Regions from separate parts of the Homo sapiens genome. Here regions 1 and 2 are each linked to region 3. The links are contacts of gene promoters, found by promoter capture Hi-C in blood cells and fetal thymus (Javierre and others, 2016). All regions are on one chromosome and are shown on one strand. The core of a region is centred on a gene start or on the middle of the fragment in contact, and the rest is flanking DNA. Distances in the headings are between cores, read along the strand shown. Region 1 holds the start of TMEM216 (transmembrane protein 216). Region 2 holds the start of VWCE (von Willebrand factor C and EGF domains). Region 3 holds the start of TMEM132A (transmembrane protein 132A).

Region 1 (3,698 bases), core at 1-2,500, 470 kb before region 3:
ACAAGAACTGCCACACACTTGGGAAAAAAGAGGACATCAGTCTCAGCTTTCCATGAACTAGTTAGTGAGATGTGGGCATTATTACAGCAGCAGGATACATAAACTCACAATGCGACTCAGGCTCATTATTATGGTGTTTTACTCCTAACTCCAAAAGTCTCTGGGGACTCCACTCTCCAAAATGATTGGATGTACATGGGTACACAGGCCACTGAATAGTTTCTAAGGGTCACCAGTGGGCTTACAGTGGAGCTCAGCAAAGAGCAGTGATGTGGGCAGAGTCAGAATGGAGAAGCCCACATTTCTCAAACTCAAGAAATTCTTGCTGAGGGGCTGCCTATGGAATCATACTCAAAGAAGCCATCTGATGAGGAGGCCTGCCTTGCAGCGACAAAGAACTGCAGGGGGCAGAAAAGAACGGAAAATAAGAAGGTTCTTGGTAGGAATTGGCTCTGAGCTGAAGTGGGGAAGGGATGCTGTCGTCAAGCCCCAAGCCTTCCTTACCTTTATACAGAAATATGAAAAGTTCCAGCAGGAAATAGGTAGCATTATACCACCCGTTCAGAAAGAACAGGATTTCCAGCGGGGTGGAGGACAACCGTTTACCTGAAAAAGGAGCACAGAGAAGTGGGATGGGCCGGAAGGCAGCTCCCTCTCTGCTCGTATGGGTTGGTGTCTAACTTTGGGGAAACTAGACGCTGCAACTAATGGGACCGGCCACTCAGGGGCACTTCTGGTTGCTGATAATGAGGGGGCGAGGGTACGGGGGTGGGAGTGGAGGGGGCTTCCCTCCTTTCCTAGGAATCACCGTGAAACTCGACTCTTCGGCTTCAGGAATAAAAGTCAAGAGGTAACTCGCAGCTGACAGACATCTCAAAGATCTCACTCTGTCACTATTTGGGAGGGGAAGTTGGGGCGCAGAGACCAACAGATTCGCACCTGAGCCAGCCTAGAAGTGGCCCAGCCAAGGATCTGCGTTTATTTGAGCTGTGCACCTTGAGACCTTCAGGCACCCAGGGTGGGCGGGACCGCGGAAGCCGGCTTTGGACCAGGGAGGCGCGACGTCCCTAACGCTAGAGAATGGAGGGTTTAGGTCAAGCTCTGGGACAGAGGTGGGAGGGAGCGACCGAAGGGAAAGGGACCAGCGACTCACACACCTCCGGAATCTCACCTCGCGGCGCCATCTTCAGTCCCCGTGGCAGCATACGCTGCCACAGCGGCTCCCGGAGCAGCGCGGCGCTGCCGGAAACAGGGACGAAGCGGCCTGGGTTTCCGGCCCCTCTGCCCGCCCGCGGCACTCTGTGGTCACCCGGAGCTGGACGAGCTCGGGCCTGGCCGCAAGTGGCCCTCGCTCGGATGTCCCCTCTCCAGACCTAAGGGATAACGGTGACCACCCACGACGCCGTCGTCTGCAGGACCTCAGGGGTGCGGGGGAGGACCTTGGAGGCTCTCAGACTACCGGGCGTTGGGCGGAAGTGGCCAGTTGTGATAGTGTTACCAGGAGATTGGCAAATAGGTCCTACTCCCACGATTCTCTTTTTTCAACGGAAGACAAGAAAAGGTGTGAGCGACGGATCTCTGCAAATGCAGGGTGGAGTTAGCATTGGTCTTTTCTGCGGCCGATTTACCTACCAGGTAGAGACACGAAGGAAATAGAGCGTCCTTTCCAGGAACACACATAAATAAAATGAAACGAGTCACCACGCGATCCATAAAGTGGTGCAGTGGGAGCTGAGAGGACAAAGTGCTCCCAGGTGGAAATCTAAGTTAGTTTCCAAGAGACGGCCTGTGAGCTGGGCTTCAAAGCCTGCCTGATCCGGATTTGCAGCGGTAAAAGCGTGTTGCTGGCCGGGCTTAGTGGCTCACGCCTGTAATCCCAGCACTTTGGGAGGCCGAGGTGATGGATCACCTGAGGTCAGGAGTTCGAAATCAGCCTGGCCAACATGGCGAAACCCCGTCTCTACTAAAAATACAAAAATTAGCCGGGCGTACTGGCGCGCGCCAGTAGTTACAGCTACTTGGGAGGCTGAGGTAGGAGAATCGCTCGAACCCGGGAGGCGGAGGTTGCAGTGAGCTGAGATCGCGCCACCGCACTCCAGCCTGGGCGACAGTGAGACTCTGTCTCAAAAAAAAAAAAAAACAGAAAACTGTGTTGCTGCAGGCAGGGGAGTGCAAAAAGAAGGGTTTTGAGAGGACTCAGGTTGACTTGACTTGGCTGTTAGCCCGTTGTCAATCAGGGTAAAGCAGGAAACAGATGGCACGCTCCAACCAGGTAGCCTGAGGAAGGTGACTAAGCTTTATTTTATTTATTTCATTTTATTTTTGAGACGGAGTTTTGCTCTTGTAACCCAGGCTGGAGTGCAATGGCGCTATCTCTGGTCACTGCAACCTCCGCCTCCTGGGTTCAAGCGATTCTCCAGTCTCAGCCTCCCAAGTAGCGGGGATTACAGGTGCCCCCCACCACACCCGGCTAAATATTTTTGCATTTTTAGTAGAGACGGGGTTTCACCATGTTGGCCAGGCTGGTCTGGAACTCCTGACCTCAGGTGACCCGCCCCCCCCCCCCCCCCCCCCCCCCCCCCCCGCCTCCCAAAGTGCTGGGATTACAGGTGTGATTAATGCCCCCGGCCAAGAGTGACTAAGCTTTAAGCAAAGTGCTGTACCCCTGGCTAATTGGGATGTGGTGGGGCGGTAATTGTTACTTCTAGGCTTAAAAGGGAAGGGCCTGAAACAATTCCCTGAAGCTGGAGAGTAATATGTGCATAGAAGGCCTCCCACTAGGAACCCTCACACTCTAGGAGGCTAGTGGATAAATATAGCAGGGACCTCCATTTCCCTTCTCCCATCTCTGATCTCTGCTTATGTCTCCCGCTGACACAACTTAACTGCAAGCTGGAGGGCAAGGAAGCCCTTTAGGGTAAGTAGGAAAGCGCAGAGCACAGAGGTTAAGGTGGAAAGGAATCCAGATCCTGCTTCCCCATCTTCGCTGCCTGCAAGACAAGAGACATTAGAAAAGTTCCTGCTCTGAGCCTGATATGGAAAGAAAGTGGGCCAGCTGCACCTGGCGCGGTGGCTCACACCTGTAATCCCAGCACTTTGGGAGGCTGAGGCGGGTGGATCACTTGAGGTCAGGAATTCAAGACCAGCCTGACCAACATGGTGAAACCCCATCTCTACTAAAAATACAAAATTAGCCGGGCATGATGGCACATGCCTCTAATCCCAGCTACTTGGGGGGCTGAGGCATAAGAATCGCTTGAACCTGGGAGGCGGAGGTTGCAGTGAGCTGAGACCAAGCCATTGCACTCCAGCCTGGGCAACAAGAGTGAAACTATGTCTCAAAAGAAAAACAAAGAAAGTGGGCCAGCTGCTTGTTTTTGTAAATAAAAGTTCTTTGGAGAACGTCATCATGGTCACTTACTTACATGTTATTATATATTGCAGCTTTCATGCTATTATGGCAATGTTAAGTAGTTGCAACAGAGACCACATGGCCCACAGCCTTAAATACCATCTGACCCTTTAAGAAAAAGTTGGCTAATCTATGTCAGAGTATGCCACAACTTCATAGATGCCAAAAGCTGACAGTGAGGCCAAATTACTTATGGCAAACAGCAGGAACATCAGCATGGCAACCTGGGGGCCCCCTGCTCCCAAGTCCTATGAGTGACACAATGACCCCAGATGGTGCTGCACTC
Region 2 (3,825 bases), core at 532-3,031, 370 kb before region 3:
TGTTGACAAGAAAATGGGCCAAAACAAACAAGGTGAGATACGGCCTCAAGGTGAATGTCTGCAAAAATGTAGCCACAAGCCGGGTGCGGTGGCTCACGCCTGTAATCCCAGCACTTTGGGAGGCTGACGTGGGTGGATCATTTGAGGTCAGGAGTTCAAGACCAGCCTGGTCAACATGGTGAAACCCCGTCCCTACTAAAAATACAAAAATTACCTGGGCATGGTGATGTGCGCCTGTAGTCCCAGCTACTCGGGAGGCTGAGGAAGGGGAATTGCTTGAACCCGGGAGATGGAGGTTGCAGTGAGCCGAAATCGTGCCACTGCATTCCAGCCTGGGCGACAGAGAAAGACTCCATCTAAAAAAAAAAAAAAAAAAATGGGGCCACACAGCTTCAGGTAGGGAGACCACTTGGCAGCTTGTGTTTAAATAACATAAAAGCACAACAAAAAATGCCTGCTTTTTTTCGTTCTTTTTTTTTTTTGAGATGGAGCCTTGCTCTGTCGCCCAGGCTGGAGTGCAATGGTGCAATCTTGGCTCACTGCAACCTCTGCCTCCTGGGTTCAAGTGATTCTCCTGCCTCAACCTGAGTAGCTGGGAATACAGGCGCCCGCCACCATGCCCAGCTAATTTTTGTATTTTTAGTAGAGATGGGGCGTCACCATATTGGCTAGGCTGGTTCTGGAACTCCTGACCTCAGGTGATCCGCCCACCTCAGCCTCCCAAAGTGCTGGGATTACAGGTGTGAGCCACCGCGCCCGGCCACCTGTGGTTTTTCTTTACTGCAAACTCAATGTGTCATAATTAACATCATGGGGTTGCCAAAAACGTAATATTAGGGTGCATTAGTAAAAGTATGGTGTCTGCAGGAAGGAGGCACGAGTCCAGGCCACCGCTGGTACGCCATGTCCATTTGTGGCCACCAATGTTAAGCACCTCAGTAAAGGCAGAGGTAGCAGGAAGGCCAAAGGAACAGGGATTGTTCAACTGGGAAGTGAAGACACTTTAAAACAAATGTGGTTCAAAACTGGATTGGGCCGCTTCTTAACAGATAGTGAGTTTCTTACCCCTGGAAGTATTTAAGCAAAATCTTGACTAATTGTGGGTGGCTAAGGGAAAGATTACTGCATGGAGCAGAAGGTAAAATCAGTTATCCTTTCAGCTTTCTCCCAGCGGGATGATTTTGATTTCCGCACCCCTTCTTTGCCTAAATCCCTAGGCAGCCCCCCAGTCTCTGACCACGGCCTGGGGCAGCTGCAGAAGGGGCAAAGAGGAGCCTTCCAGATCTGCTGCTGCCTCTCCACTGCCAACGGCGCCAGCTGCTTCCTGGTCTTGCCACCAGCAGTCGGGAGGCCGGCCATCTGCCCCCTGGGTGCCCAGAGGAGCCCGGGGCTTCAAAAGTGGCTAGGGCCCCAGGCCAGGGAGCGGTTGGACCCACAGATCAACGCACTCCGGCGTTAGGGTGCAGACCTTCTGGCAGGCTGGGGGCAGGCCTAGAACTGCTCAGCGGCACAGCGACCTGGCGTCGTGGGTTCGAATTTCCACGGTTCCCACCTCGTCACAACAAGGCGTCTCGGGTCCCACCGACAGGGGCCATGCCCGGGGCGCGCAGCCTCTGGTGCTAGCCTTGTTCCCGAAGTCTGTTTCCTCCCGGGGCCTCGGTCTGACGCCTTCAGTCAGCGCTTCGCAGGAAGCCGACTCCCAAACCGGGGCAGGGGGTGTGGGCCGAGGGCGAAACCCCGCCCCCAGGGGTCCCTGATCTTTGCCCCCGCCCCGGGCTCCGCGCCTCTCGGAGAGGCATCAGCAGGCGGGCGGCGTTGCCTTTGTGTGTTTCGCTTCGAGGTGCCAGAGACCCTCCCCACAATCGTCCGCCGCGTCCCCTCGCGGCCCTCGGCCCCTCCTCTCGGCGTCCCAAGCCCCCCTGCTCAGCTCTGCGTGCCATTTCGGGGATCGCTGGTTCGCTCCCCACGGCGCCAGGAGGAGGGGCGAGGGCCGGCAGCCCCCTCTCCCGCGCGCGGCGCAGGAGCCGAGCCCAGCCCGGGGGACCCGCCGCCGCCGGTCATGTGGGCCGGACTGCTCCTTCGGGCCGCCTGTGTCGCGCTCCTGCTGCCGGGGGCACCAGCCCGAGGCTACACCGGGAGGAAGCCGCCCGGGCACTTCGCGGCCGAGAGGTAAGCGCCCGGAGCTCCTCCCCGCTCCCCCGCCCGGGAGAGCGCTACCGGCGTGCAGTCGAGAGGCGCGGAGGGGCGCTCAGGAGCCGCAGGCAGCCGCGTGTCGGGGCTTCCTCTGGGGTGCTATCAGCGCGGGCACAGCTCGGGGACGGCACAAAGAGTCAGCAACTTGTGCCTCTAGGCGGGTGCTCATCGTGCCCCCCTGGCTGGGGCTGTCCAGACTGGGACCTGGGAGATCGGAGGTCCAGGCGTTGGGTGACTCCTAATGTGCCCTGGAGCGCGGACCTCTGGAGAGGGGAGCCCAGGACGTGCCATCTGGTCTCCGGACTGGCTGGCTCACCCCCCAGCGTGCCCGTGGCTCTGCCCGGGCAGCGCCTGGCCTCCCCTGCCGCGCGGGGCTTTCCCTGGGTCTTGGCCCTACGAACTTCATGGACCTTGGAACAGCCGGGGTCTCTGGGTCACTTTTCGTTTTCTGTCCGTGCGTGTGCGCGCGTGGGGGTGGGGTGCATGCCCCTCCGCTGTCTTTCGCGATGGATGCCGCCCTCCGCACGTGCTTTCCCCCGGGCCGCGGTGGGGCCGTGCGCGTGTGTGCGTGATGCTCGGAGCTAGGGAACACTGTGTCAGCAGGCGGCCTGGCCCGCGGCCACGTCCTCCGGGGGGCGCGCAGCGGGGGCGGCCCGGCCAGGCTTGTAGCTCACACGTGTGTTCCACAGCCACCGCCAGTTCCTGCTCAGAACCTGCCCCGACTCCCCGGCGTTCCACAGGCTCCCACCACCTGTCCCTCTGTCACCAGCCCTAGGAGGCTCCTTAGGGCGCTCTGGCGGGTGCTCGGTCCCTGCCCACCTGAGAGTTCGACTCCATCAGCCTCCCTGGGCACCCTTTTATCTGCCGCCTTGGTGGCACTGCCTGTCCGTTTCTGAGAGTCCCAAGGCTCCGCTCATTCGCCCGGTCCCCTCCTTCTCAGGCTGCTGCCATAATCACTCCAGCAAGGGGGTGGATGAGACTTCACTGCCAGCTCCCGCCAGCAGGAGGGCCCCCCCTTTCTTCTGTGATGACCTCAGAGAGGGAAAAAGGCCCCAGGGACAGCTTTCCTCAGACTTTTGTGTGCTGCCATTGCACCCTGAGCTTCCCTTTCCGGAATACTTGTCACATTTTGGCACAGATTTTTCTCCCCAAGAACACGCTAAGTTTGCCTTGTCCCATGTCCCCAGTGCCCAGCGCAGAGTGGGTGCTTTACAAAGTGCCTGCCTCGCAGAATCATCTTCCCTCCGCTCTGAACATTGGTGGAACACCATTGGGAAGGGGTTTCTTGTCCCTTTTCTGTTGCGGTGGGGTTGGAAGCTCAAACCAGGCTGGATTTCATCACCCTCTGTCCAGTCCATGACTGGAGCTGGTTGCAGTTGTCCTCTCTGTCCCCCTCCAGGCCTGCAGTTGTGCTGTTTCCCCTGCTAGAACACCCTCTCCCTTCCTCTTCTTTTGCTGGCTGCCCTACTTTTTTTTTTTTTTTTTTTGAGACAGAATCTTATTCTGTCACCCAGGCTGGAGTGCAGTGGTGCGATCTCGGCTCACTGCAGCCTCTGCCTTCTGGGTTCAAGCGATTCTCATGCCTCAGCCTCTCGAGCAGCTGGGACAACAGGCACATGCCACCACACCTGG
Region 3 (3,477 bases), core at 624-3,123:
TTGCCTGTGGTTCCACAGCTGGAGAGTGAAGGAGCTGGGGGTTGATCCCAGGTATTAGCCACTAGACCATCCGGCGTCTCCACCTGCCACTTCTCTCTCCACTCTCCACTGCCACGGTGCACCCTGCAGGCTTCATGCCCTGGAGCGCACCTCCTCTCCTCTGCTCTGCCCGGTGGCACCTCCCTCCTCATTCAGGGCCATGAGTGAATACTGCCTCCTTCTGAAGGAAGCCCTCCTTGGTTACTCACCTTCCCACCAGTCTCCTGTCTTTTGCAACCCTGGGTGCCTCCTCTGAATTAGTAATCTTCCTATAAACAAGGGACCCTGTCTTGCTCATCCTGGAATTCCCCCAAACTAGGAAGCGCTCCCTAGAGAGGATTTCCTGGGAGCCTGGAGACCTGAATTTAAATTGATGAAACTTGGGTCAGGCATTAACATTTTGAAGCCTGTTTCCTCACTTGTAAAAGGGGCAGGAGCATTAGGTGGCACTGTGGACAGGACAGGGCTGTGTAAACTGTGGAGTGCTGTCTGGAGGGAGCAGGCATTATTGCTGCTGCATAATGGATTTGACAAGGTTTTCCTCCTCTCTCTATTAGGACTCCCATGGCGTCCCTCGGGATGGGGAGCAGGTGGCTGAAAGCAACCCCACAGCTAGCTCCCTCTCAGCCCCACAGCTGGACTGTGGGTGGGGGTGGGGGAATTGGTTTCAACCTCCTTCCTGGCCCTCCCCACCAAGGAGCATATGACTGACAGGCTCTCCCTGCCCCCTGCCCCAAGCGTAACAAGTGACCACTGCTCTCTGGGGGCAGCCACTGGCTTCAGGTTCGCCTCCTACTCCATTGCCTCCATAATTACAAGATGCTCTTAGCCTGACTCCCACGGACTCCCATCACCCAGCGCTCGGCTCTCTCGGTGGGGAGGGCAGAGAATGTTTCACTGTCCCTCTGTCTTCTGTGGCATCCTTTGCCTTGCAGCCACAGCCCAGCTAGCCCAGGCCAAGGGAGTCCGACCCCCACCCCGAAGCACAGGGAAGTTGCTGCCCTTTCCCGCAGTGACAGGAATCCTCTCAAAGGTTCTGGAAGGCAAGGATGCGGCCATCCCTGGAGACGCCAAGGTCAGGGAGCCCTGGGGGAAGGGGGAGGGAGGGCTTGCGTCTGTTGCAGGTCCCAGGCAAAGGGGCTGCTTTCCACTCCCGAGGGGGGTGGGTTGGTGGCGGCGGAAGGAGGCTAGGAGGGTGCAGCGCTACAGACCACAGTGAGGGAGTGGGGATGACGCTAGTGCGCCCGGGACCGGGGCCGCCGGGTTCGATGCCCGGGCTGAGGGGTCCCTCGCAGAAGGTGCGGGACGGGGAAGCCCCTGCGCCGGGCTGCCCCGGGTCAGGAAGGAGTTGCCGGGTCGTGCAAGGTGAAGGAAGCCTTAGGGGCGAGTGGCTGGGGGCAGGTTCCCGAGGGCAAGAACTCTCCGACCTTCAGGGCGCTGCGGGGCGACCCCGCTCAGGGTTCAGTCCGAGAACCCAAAGGTTGGTGGCTCCCGGGCATCACTCGCTCCCACTCGGCCGGGCCCGGCCGCCCCTCGCCCCGGCCCTCCCCTCCCGCTGACCTCTCACGACGTCCAGGGCGAGGGCCACCAGGAGGCAGAGCCAGGGGCCGTAGGGCCCCCGAGGGGCCGCTGTTGTGCGACCGGCCATCCGCGCGCACATCCTTCCCACAGAAGGCGGGGACGAGGCGGGCGGCTCAGGTGGCCCCAGTCCCGCACGGCATCTCCCGCACCCGCTCCGCGCCGTCCCCACCTGGCCCGCTGGGTCCCGGCCGCCGCCGCCGCCGCCGCCGCCCGCCCCGCGGCTGCAATTCCCAGACAATGGAGCGGGAGCAGTGGGGTGGGAGGGAGCGAATCGCAGCACATGGGCTGCCCCCTCCGCCCCGCCGGGTCCTAGTGCCCTACGGATCCCCAATCCCTGCGCGCTCAGGCGACCGAGGTCGGGAAGAGGGCCACGTCCCTGGAAGCAACAGAGGACGGCCGCCTCTGCCAGGAGGGACTCGGTGAGTTCTGTGTGGCTCCCTCACGGAAGCTTCTGATCAGGGAAGAAAAAGCCACTTTCTCTGCCTCACCCACCCCCACAAGCAGCTCACTTGTGAAGGCATCTGACACCTGAGTCAGAACCAGAATTCAGGGACACATGGGACGGGAGCTGCAGGGACAGGAAAGGAGGGAGGGGGTCAAACGGGGCCAGATGCCAACCACCTGAGCCTGCCCTGACAGAGCTAGGCCACCGCCGTGGAGGAAGGGCTCTAGGTGCAGGCAGCTCTAGTCTCTTGACCAGCTCCACCTGGGCAGCGTCCTGCAGCGCTTAGGAGGGTTGAGGGTTGCCCAACACTCCCGAGGGAAGGCCAGCCTCAAGGGTCCTGACCCAGTGTTGCCTACCAGGCAGTTTGGGGAGAGGCCCAGAGCAGGGGCCCCAGCTGCACACTCTCATGCCCTGGGCAGCTTACAAAGAAAAAATTATGTCTGAGGCCCTCCGCAAAATTGGTCCAGCCTGTGGGCCGACTGGAAACCTTGGCACAGGAAAGTCCTCAGGTGGGTGGTGAAGGGGAGGGCAGGCAAGTCTTCTCCAGGCTGCCCACCCACCTCAGCACACTGCAGGGAAGGGGTGACCCCTCTGCCCAGCAAGCACACGCATTTCCAGCAGTGCCAGTCGTTCCTACGTTTTGTAATGGGGGCATGCTTTCCTAATTCCTTGTGCTCCTGGAGGGAAGGGTACCTGGTACCAGCCTGCCTTTTCAGCTCTCCCCTCTGCCAGCTTCACACTGCCCCCACAGGGAGAAATTGGGAGGCGGAGCTGCACTACAGAAATGGGTTTAGCAGTAGAGGAGACATGGAAGCAATCCAGACTTGGAGTAAATACATTTTATTCAGAACAAGATAATAAAATAGCGTGCACTTTATTTAAAACCAACCAAGCACTGATAAAAAATATATATCACTGCAGCTGTGATTCCACATCAAACCTGAACAGTAAGAATTGGGCATTTATTCTTCACATCATGTGCCAAGCCTGGCAGAGAAGGACATCCACCTCCACTAGAGCCTCAAAGGAAAAGTGGCCCCTAACCACCAAGACAGGGTACCCTGGTGGAGAGGGGCAGCTGGCAGCTCACCCTGCTCTCTGCAGACCACGTGAAGGGAAAGGAGCTGCCTGTGTTCCTCCCGGGCTGCCGGGGTGGGCACTGGTCAGCAACTCCTTCTCGGTTTCAGGTTGTGGAGCGATGGGGAGAGAAGTGCATGCAGTTGTGCAGACAAGGAGGCGGGTCCTCCCTCCTCTTTCAGGGTCTCTGAAACCCCCACAGGGCATATAATGCCCAGCAAGGTCCCACTTGCAGGCACATGCCTACAAAGCAGCAGCCATCTTTTGCTTTGGCTGATGGGGAATCAAGATTCTGAGAGTGACTGCTCTTTTCTTGACACAAAGCAGCCACAGAA

What was found. Contacts are between HindIII fragments. The CHiCAGO score rates a contact against its expected background, and 5 or more counts as called.
Region 1: a contact is called between the fragment with the promoter of TMEM216 here and the fragment with the promoter of TMEM132A in region 3, in 7 of 17 cell types (neutrophils, non-activated CD4 T cells, activated CD4 T cells and 4 more). The highest score is 9.3, in neutrophils.
Region 2: a contact is called between the fragment with the promoter of VWCE here and the fragment with the promoter of TMEM132A in region 3, in 1 of 17 cell types (erythroblasts). The highest score is 5.2, in erythroblasts.

What each region holds. Positions count from the first base shown.
Region 1 is chr11:61,390,139-61,393,836 of GRCh38, reverse strand. TMEM216 (transmembrane protein 216) reads right to left here and starts at 1,250. Exons shown (of 5, transcript NM_001173990.3): 1 at 1,172-1,250; 2 at 505-606. The coding sequence starts at 1,205. RefSeq lists an enhancer at 524-1,485. The HindIII fragment of the contact is 9,831 bases long and covers 1-2,297 here.
Region 2 is chr11:61,293,272-61,297,096 of GRCh38, reverse strand. VWCE (von Willebrand factor C and EGF domains) reads left to right here and starts at 1,781. Exons shown (of 20, transcript NM_152718.2): 1 at 1,781-2,169. The coding sequence starts at 2,060. RefSeq lists silencers at 1,702-1,771, 1,952-2,261, 2,702-2,961 and an enhancer at 2,028-2,730. The HindIII fragment of the contact is 23,922 bases long and covers 1-3,825 here.
Region 3 is chr11:60,922,856-60,926,332 of GRCh38, reverse strand. TMEM132A (transmembrane protein 132A) reads right to left here and starts at 1,873. Exons shown (of 11, transcript NM_178031.3): 1 at 1,600-1,873. The coding sequence starts at 1,699. It overlaps TMEM109 (transmembrane protein 109), which reads right to left. Exons shown (of 4, transcript NM_024092.3): 4 at 2,890-3,477. LOC124902676 (a long non-coding RNA gene) reads left to right here and starts at 936. Exons shown (of 2, transcript XR_007062688.1): 1 at 936-1,114. RefSeq lists silencers at 1,228-1,297, 1,338-1,557, 1,618-1,977. The HindIII fragment of the contact is 2,439 bases long and covers 1-2,070 here.